2 separate regions of the Homo sapiens genome follow, and region 1 is linked to region 2. The links are contacts of gene promoters, found by promoter capture Hi-C in blood cells and fetal thymus (Javierre and others, 2016). All regions are on one chromosome and are shown on one strand. Each heading gives the region's core, a stretch centred on a gene start or on the middle of the fragment in contact. The rest is flanking DNA. Distances are from core to core; before and after follow the strand shown. Region 1 overlaps RAD54L (RAD54 like). Region 2 holds the start of MOB3C (MOB kinase activator 3C).

Region 1 (4,155 bases), core at 278-2,777, 360 kb after region 2:
TACAACAGCATCCATCTTCGAGGCTTTATGTAAGGTTCTACAAATATCCAGGGATAGCAGAAGGGCCCAGCCTCAGTCAACCACGAGGCTTAGAACCCAGGAAACCATTCACTCATTAAAAACCATGCCAGTGAGCATACCTAGCTCTTCCCTAGGGTATAGCACCTTGGAAAGCAAATACCACAGACTTAGCCAACCTGAGTAATAATGGATAATTCTAATGTCTGGGTTTAACCACTGTCATATAGGGTTACACCTTCCCAAGCACACCTCACAATTCTTTTTTTTTTTTTTTTGGCTACATCAGTTATGTCTAATATATCTAATACTCACATCAGCCTCCTTGGGAACTAAACAGCTCATCAAAGAGTAGTGATGGAGAAATGGGAGCCATCGTATTAATAAAATAATATTAACAACACCAGGCCGGGCATGGTGGCTCACACCTGTAATCCTAACACTTTGGGAGGCCAAGGCAGGAGGATCACTTAGGTCTGGGAGTTCGAGACCAGCCTGGGCAATATAGCAAGACCCCATCTCTATTTTAAAAATATATATTTAAAAATATAAATAAAAATAATGATGGCTACCAATGTATGCTAGACACAGAGCTAAGCCTCTTGCATTCATGTTACCATTTAATCCTAACAGCTGTATGAGGTCCATATATTACTGGTGTTTCCATTTTACAAATGAGCAAACTGAGGCTCAGAGTGATTAAGTCACTTTCTCAAGTCACAAAGCCATTACAAATGCAGGACTTTCCTGGTTCTAGGGTCCTTACTTGTACTCAGTAGGCAACGTGGCCTCTCACCCACTCTGAGTACAGCCATGCAGATCAGCCCAGACCCAGCAGCTTCCTGCCATGTAAAGCACAAGAGAAGGAACATGAGAAAGGGACATGAGAGAGAAGCTAAGCCCAACACTAAGAAAAAGCAAGTGGGACAAGGGTGACAGCAGGTAGACATATGTGGGTCCTAGAGAGGTAGCACTGGTGACTCCTCCACCTAAAGGCAAGAAGCCTCTGTACAAGCACTTCTGCCTTGAACCAGCATTATTCCATGGGCTATGGGGCTGGGGCAGGGGCAGAGAAGGCAGAAAAATTAACACTGAGCTAACTCTGACAGCTCCCATGGAAGTTCTGGTCCACACACACCTGAGCCCTTTGCGGAACTGTGATAGCCTGTGAACCTCAACAAAACCAGAGGTGGAAGCCAAGAGAGCAGAGAAATAAAGAGCAGAGACCCTGAAGGTAGTTTTAATGGGAATATATTAGTGGAAAAAGCAGTAATGAAAAAATGTCCCTTCTAGCAAAAAACATAGTCTAATAGGAAAAAAAGCAAGCCTGCCGTGATATTTTTACCTTTGTTTTCTGACTCATTTCTTCACACATCATCAATGTCTAGAAATTCAAATGTACTTTATTTGTTTTTTGGGGTTTTTTTTTTTTTTTTTTTTGAGATGGAGTCTTGCTCTGTTGCCCAGGCTGGAGTGCAATGGCACAATCTCAGCTCACTGCAACCTCCACCTCCCAGGTTCAAGCAATTCTCCTGCCTCAGCCTCCCAAGTAGCTGGGACTACAGGCACACGCCACCACACCTAGCTAATTTTGATATTTTTAGTAGAAACAGGGTTTCACCATGTTGGCCAGGCTGGTCTTGAACTCCTGCCCTCAAGTGATCCGTCCACCTTGGCCTCCCAAAGTGCTGGGATTATAGGCATGAGCCATCACACCTGGCCTCAAATGTACTTTAAATTTAAAAAAAGTAATGAATTTTTTTTGTGATATTAGAAGACAGAAAACAAGTATGTAGAAATGAACTTCCTTATCACACTAAATAACATGACAACATCACACTAAATAACATAACATAAAGGCAAAGTTGGCAAAAAACTCAAATGCTTTTGTTTATTTGCAAATTTCTTTGCATCTGAATAAAATCTTTTATTGACTTTTTTTTTTTTTAAAAGACAGGGTCTCATTTTGTCGCCCAGGCTGGAGTACAGTAGTGGTGATCATACCTCACTGCAGTCTCTAAGTCCTGGCTCAAGGGATCTTTCTCTAAGTCCTGGCTCAAGGGATCTTTCTCACCTTGGCCTCCCAAAGTGCTGGGATTATAGGCATGAGCCATTATGCCCAGCCTTTACTATTTTTAATTAGCATGACTGTAACTATGAATAGCAATGATAATCATTATGAAAAATGCTAACAAAAAGGACCCTTGGCCAGTGCAGTGGCTCATGCCTATAACCCCAGTGCTTTGGGAGGCTGAGGTGGGAGGACCGCTTAAGCCCAGGATTTTGAGACCACCCTAGGCAACGTAGTGAGACCCCCCCACACACCCCGTACACAAAATTTAAAAATTACCCAGGCACTGTGGCACATGGTCCCAGCTACTCAGAAGGCTGAGGCAGGAAGATCACTTGGCCTAGGAGTTCAAGGCTGCAGTGAGCTACAACTACACCACTGCACTCCAGCCTGGGTGACAGCAAGACCTGCCTCAAAGGAAAAAAAAAAGCTACTCTTAAGTCAAATGAGAGGAAAAGGAGATGGACCCTAATTTTCTTTTTAATTTGGCATCAATTCTAAAACAGAAATATTTTCAAAATTATCAGTATAGAAGGCTAGATTTGAGGCTCTGAGTAGCCAAGAATTTATGCCCTAAATTTAAAAAGACTTTCAATAGAACACAGGAACCATAGGTTCTGCAGGGAGAACTACAGGCTTGCATAACTGGTAAGGAAGAATGTGGAGACCCCTGGCCAAAAATGTCTGAGGGCTCAGCCTGCAAAATGGAATGGCCTGCTGGGCACAGTGCACGCCTGTAATCCCAGCACTTTGGGAGGCCAAGGCGGGCAGGTCACCTGAGGTCAGGTGTTCGAGATCTGCCTTGCCAACATGGTGAAACCCCGTCTCTGCTAAAAGTACAAAAAACTGAGCTGGGTGTGGGGGCGGGCACCTATAATTCCAGCTACTTGGGAGGCTGAGGCACAAGAATCACTTGAACCTGGGAGGCAGAGGCTGCAGTGAGCCGAGATCGCGCCACTGCACTCCAGCCTGGGTCACAGAGCAAGACTATGTCTCAAAAAAAAAAAAAAAAAAAAAAAAGGAATGGCCAACCTTCAGGGATCTGGTTTGGTGACTCACCAGTCTCTATAGCAGGGGGCAGGGGAGGGAGCATGCTCTTATTCTCTGTTCATTTAGTTACTGATAATTCATACCAATCTTTCCTTCTGATAGATGAGAGACAGCATCCCTCCTCCCCACCAAGGCTAAAGCTTCCCATTTCTGCAGAGAATCACTCTGTTATGACTGATCACTCTTGTATCTCAACCTCTCCCTCTCTACTAGCTCTTACCAGCATTTAAAATGGACTTAATTATCTCCTATCTTAAAAACAAATATTCATTTGATTGCTTATCTCTCCTCTCCACAGGCAAACTTCTAGTAAGTTATATAGCTCCCCTTCTTTCCTCCCACTCTTCCTGTCTTCTGCCCCTTCCACTCTGGCCAAGATCACGAATGGCCTACATGACCCTAATTCCAATGGACATGTATCTTACTTGACGAAGCTGACCACTCCTCAAATATTTTCTGCCTTTGATTTCCATGACACTACTCTCCACCTTTCTGGGATCTCATCTTCAGTCCCCTAATGAGCTCTTTTCCCTCTGCCTTTTAACCCTCAACCCACCCCCAGAGCTCAATGCTCCCAACCGGCTGCAGTGACTCACGTCTGTAATCCCAGCACTCTGGGAGGCCAAGACAGGAGGATTGCTAGAACCCAGGAGTTTGAAACCTGCCTGGGCAACACAGTGAGACCTGGTCTCTACATATCATTTAAAAATTAGCCAGGTTTGGTGGCACACGCCTGTGGTCCTAGCTACTCCAGAGGCTGAGGTGGCAGCAATACCCGAGCCTAAGATTGAGGCTGCAGTGAGCCGTGATCGCACCAGTGCATTCCAGCCTGGGTGACACAGCAAGACCCTGTCTCAGGAAAAAAAAAAAAAAAAAAAAGTCAGTGCTCCCCAGGGCTCAGGGTTTAGCCCTCAGATCTTCTGACTACCCATTCACCAATCCACTTACCAGGTATAAAATTTATCTATGCTAATGAGTCCCAGGTGTATTTCTAGTTATACCTTACTCCACATCCA
Region 2 (4,025 bases), core at 1,436-3,935:
ACAGGTAGTTGAGAGATCTGGGCTCTCTCGCTTCCCCCAACCCTTCCACCTGCCTCCCATCCCACAGACACCCAGGGACTCTGAGGATGAGCTGGGAATTTCTGATGTTCCTTCAAAATGGATCATCTCTATTTCCCACAGTGTAAGGTTCTGTGCTGTTCACTCTTCACCAGAAAAACTCCTGCCTATCCTGTAAAACCCAGCTCAGAGGTCCAGAAAATGACCCTGCACAAAGCCTCTGCAGAGGAAGTCACATCAAATTCTGAAGAATCTTCCAGACCATGATCTCTGACCACAATGCAATATAATTAGAACTCAACAAGAAAAACATAAACCTCCCATAGGCTGAGAAACTGAAAAACATACTTTGAAATCATTCAAGAGTTAAAGAGGAAATTACACTGAAATTTATGAACTATTTAGAACTGAATGATAAGGAAAACACAAGCAGTTTCCAAATCATTTCCCCTATGAAGTCAGCCCTGACCCCACATGGCTCCTCAGATGGCTCTCCACCCTCTACCCATTTCTACGCCCTAGGAGGCTGACGTCTATGGGCTGCAGCAACAGGTTCCCTTGTTCTTAGCTTCTGGGAGGATTCAGCTAGTGGGGGAAACCTGGCCAGAGATCAGACGGAGGGAGAGAGGGAGGAGAGTGAGGCCTCTTACTTGCCCCCTGTCCTTCCCTGTATGATTGCTGTGAGCTGGGTATGCCCCTCCACCTTAGGCCACAGCAGCGCCCTCCTCATAGCTCCCACTTTCACCATTCCTTCCCCACACTCCTGCAGCCTGGGGTTGACAGCCTCTGCTCTTGTGAGCCCTTTGGTGATACACTGTGTGGTTTCCCTACACCTTGACCATACCTGTAAATAATGTCTTCATTAAACATACCCATTCTGGGTGTTCCATGTGCTTCCTGCAAATACCCCGACTCTTACAAAGTCCGTCAGTCCACAACCACATTCTCACTTCTGGGTGACTGAGCTGTGACCTTGTGTATCTCTGTGTGTTGTCCCCTTTACTGACCTGTCAGCACCTGAGGTCGGCAACCAGGTCAGCTTTATCACCCAGTCCCCTGATCTGATATGAGTGGAGAGTTATACTCAATAAAAGATATTGATTAGGATATCAAATAAATAAAGAAGCATAGTTTAATTTGCTCCATAAGCAAGTGTTTGTTTATAGGGGATTCAGGGCAGAGAGTTAAGAGTCAGACATAAAAATACAGAGAACTTTAGACTGGGGCAAAAATTGGTGCTCAACAAAAGAACATACCCACAGTTCTATGAGCTGGGATTCTTTCTTTACTTTTATTTTAGGTTCAAGGGTACATGTGTAGGTTTGTTATATAAGTAAACTCTGTGTCATGGGGATTTGGTGTACAGATAATTTCATCACCGAGGTAAGCAGCATAGTACCTGATGGGTATTTTTGTCTCATCCTCCCTCCTCCCGCCCTCCACTCCCAAGCAGGCCCCAGTGTCTGCTGTTCCCCTCCTAGTATCTATGTATTCTCATTGTTTAGCTCCTACTTGTAAGTGAGAATATGCAGTATTTGGTTTTCTATTCCTGTGTTAGTCTGCTTAGGATAATGGCCTCCAGCTCCAGCCCATGTTGCTGCAAAGGATATGATCTGGGTTAAGGATCTAGCGTGTTCTCATGTCATCCAGCAACAGAAGGTCCAGACACAAGGGAGGTCCAGTGTGCCATGGTAAATGCCCACCTCTGGCCTCCAGCTCTCCCCTACCCGCATCTACTCACCTCCCACCCCTCCAGAGTGGCTTCTATGGCTAAGCTCTCTGCTTTGGGCTTCCTACCCTAGAAAGCCTCCAATCTTCCCTCCCATCCCAGACAGAGCAGCCAACTGGTCCCTGGGCCTGGGGGCCACGGTGTGCATTGAATGCTGGTGGGATATCTGTCTGTCCTCGAAGGAACCCAGGTGGTAGGGAGAGCAGATCAGATCTTGAGTGGTTTGGATTTGTCAGAAGGAAGGAGGGAGAGAAGGTATTCTAAAATGGAACAGCTGGGATAAGGGTCTGGAGATAAGAAATGGGGTGACTCTGGGTAAGGAGCAAGGAGAATCAGCCCAACCTGAGCCAGGCCCCCTCCCTGGTGAGGAGATGAAGTTTGTGATTTGAGCGCTCTTCTGGGGCTTGTCCCTCAGGGGTGAAGGACTCAGCTCATGATTCCCAAGGCGTTCATTTATTCCTTCACTCACCCATTCATTCATTCATCAAGTGGGTTTTGAGTTCCTGCTATGTGCCAGGAGCTGAGGATATGGGAGTGGATAGGACGGTCCCGATCCCTTATTGGGTCCCGGGACAAGTGTGACGCAGACGATTCTAGGAGGGCAAAGAAACCACCCTTATCTAGCAGCTCTTGTTTCTGCTCCAGAAGAAGCCGAGCGTTTTCCCATTTTACTGTCTGGGAACTTGAGGCTGCCTCCTTGGTGGAGGTCCAAGGAAGCACCGAGAGGGCGGGCAGCTCAGTTAGTCCTTTGTCCAAGGGGAAGCTGGGAGCCCCATATGGACTTTCCGGGAAGGTGGGGGCGAGTGCGTCTGTGTACTGGAGTGGAGGGGAGTCCCCTTTCTCCGCCCCTCCCCGCCCCGTGGCCGCGGCGTGGCGGGGCCGGGGCGGAGCTGGCGTCGCCCGGGGCAGGAGGGCAGCCGCGGCCGGCAGGACAGGCAGACGGACAGGCTGACAGGAGAGAGAACAGGCACTGCGGGACCTGCAGGAGAAAGGCGATCCTGTGGCTGGGAATGTGACCCCACGGCCAGAAGAGGACCCGTGAGTGTGCGCCGTGCCCCTGCGGCCTCGCCGCGCACCCCGCCCGCCTGGCTTCCACTTTCATTTCTTCGGCCGTCCTGGCGTGGCACAGTCCGGAGGAGAGTCCCGCCCGAAGGCAGGCTGGCCGCTGTCCTGAGGCTGGCGTCCGAGGCTCAGAGCTTCGAAAGTTGCGGGGGGGATTGTCGGGGTGGGGGAGTACGGGGCAGAGGGGAGGGGTTGGGGGGCGTGTTTTCGGGGAGCGGAAATGTCAGGCGGGCTCCTCTGGGTCCTACGACCTTCCTGGCCCTGGGAGCTGGTTTGAGGTTGCAGGGAAGCCGGGGGTGGGCGTGGGTGGCTGCGCGCCGCGAGGAGAGCGTGGAGTCTTCGCCTCTACTTTTTCTCTTCGACCTCTGTCCTAGAGAGAGTCCCAGGATGGATTCTGGGTTCAAACTGGGGCCATCCTCTGGCCCAGATCCTGGGCCAGGCCCAAGGAGTGGTAGATGTAGCCTAGCAGGGGGCTAAATATCAGAAACAGGTAGGGTCAGCCTGCTGTCTTCATTTGAGAAGCCCAGATCCGCACCCAGGGAACGAGCAAGGCACTGCCACTCCAGGAGTGAAAGGATAGCCATCACTGGGAAATGGGGGCTAGGACGGGGAACGGCAGTGGTTCAGGGAGAGACAGAGGTTCTGTGACAGATAGAAACTCAGTGAGGGCATGGGGGTGGGGAGTGAAGGGAGTTAACCCTGTGGCTAGAAGAGCACCTGCCCTGCACCCACCCCCTGAGCTTACATTTTCCTGGAAAGAGACCCAGGCCTTGAAGTTCCACAGGAGTAAGGTGGAACTCTAGCTCACTGGTCAGGACACCCCAGTTGCTGTGCGGAGTCAGTGTGTTGGGGACAGGAAGCAGGTTGGGCTGTTTGGTGGAGAAGATGCTTCCACTGTCCCTCCACTCCCCTCCTCTTCTCTGTCTCCACCAGACCATTGATGAGCCAGTGCAGGAAAATGGTCTTTTACTCTTGGTCATGAGCTGAGCCCCACCTTATCCCAGTTCCCAGTTCTGCTTGTAACTTGCTATGTGGACACAGGCTCCTCAAGTCCTCTTTTTAGGCCTCAGTTTCCTCATCTGGGCCTCAGTTTCCCCATCTGTACAAGTGAGTTGGGCCAGCTGATCTATCAGGGCTATTTTAACTCTAAGATTCTAGTCTAAGCTTTCCTTAAAGCCTGAACACTGACTTTGTGCCAGGCCTTGTCCTAAGCTGG

The links. The method cuts DNA at HindIII sites, captures the fragments that hold promoters and counts their contacts. A CHiCAGO score of 5 or more calls a contact.
Region 1: a fragment that was not itself captured here is called in contact with the fragment with the promoter of MOB3C in region 2 in 1 of 17 cell types (neutrophils); the score reaches 5.3 in neutrophils.

What each region holds. Positions count from the first base shown.
Region 1 is chr1:46,254,447-46,258,601 of GRCh38, reverse strand. The region is part of intron 3 of RAD54L (RAD54 like); the gene reads right to left. Among named protein-coding and RNA genes, the nearest start is that of RAD54L, 8.8 kb to the right of the region's middle. The HindIII fragment of the contact is 3,509 bases long and covers 1-3,281 here.
Region 2 is chr1:46,615,471-46,619,495 of GRCh38, reverse strand. It overlaps MOB3C (MOB kinase activator 3C), which reads left to right and starts at 2,685. Exons shown (of 4, transcript NM_201403.3): 1 at 2,685-2,785. RefSeq lists a silencer at 2,511-2,790 and an enhancer at 3,191-3,260. The HindIII fragment of the contact is 4,243 bases long and covers 1-3,975 here.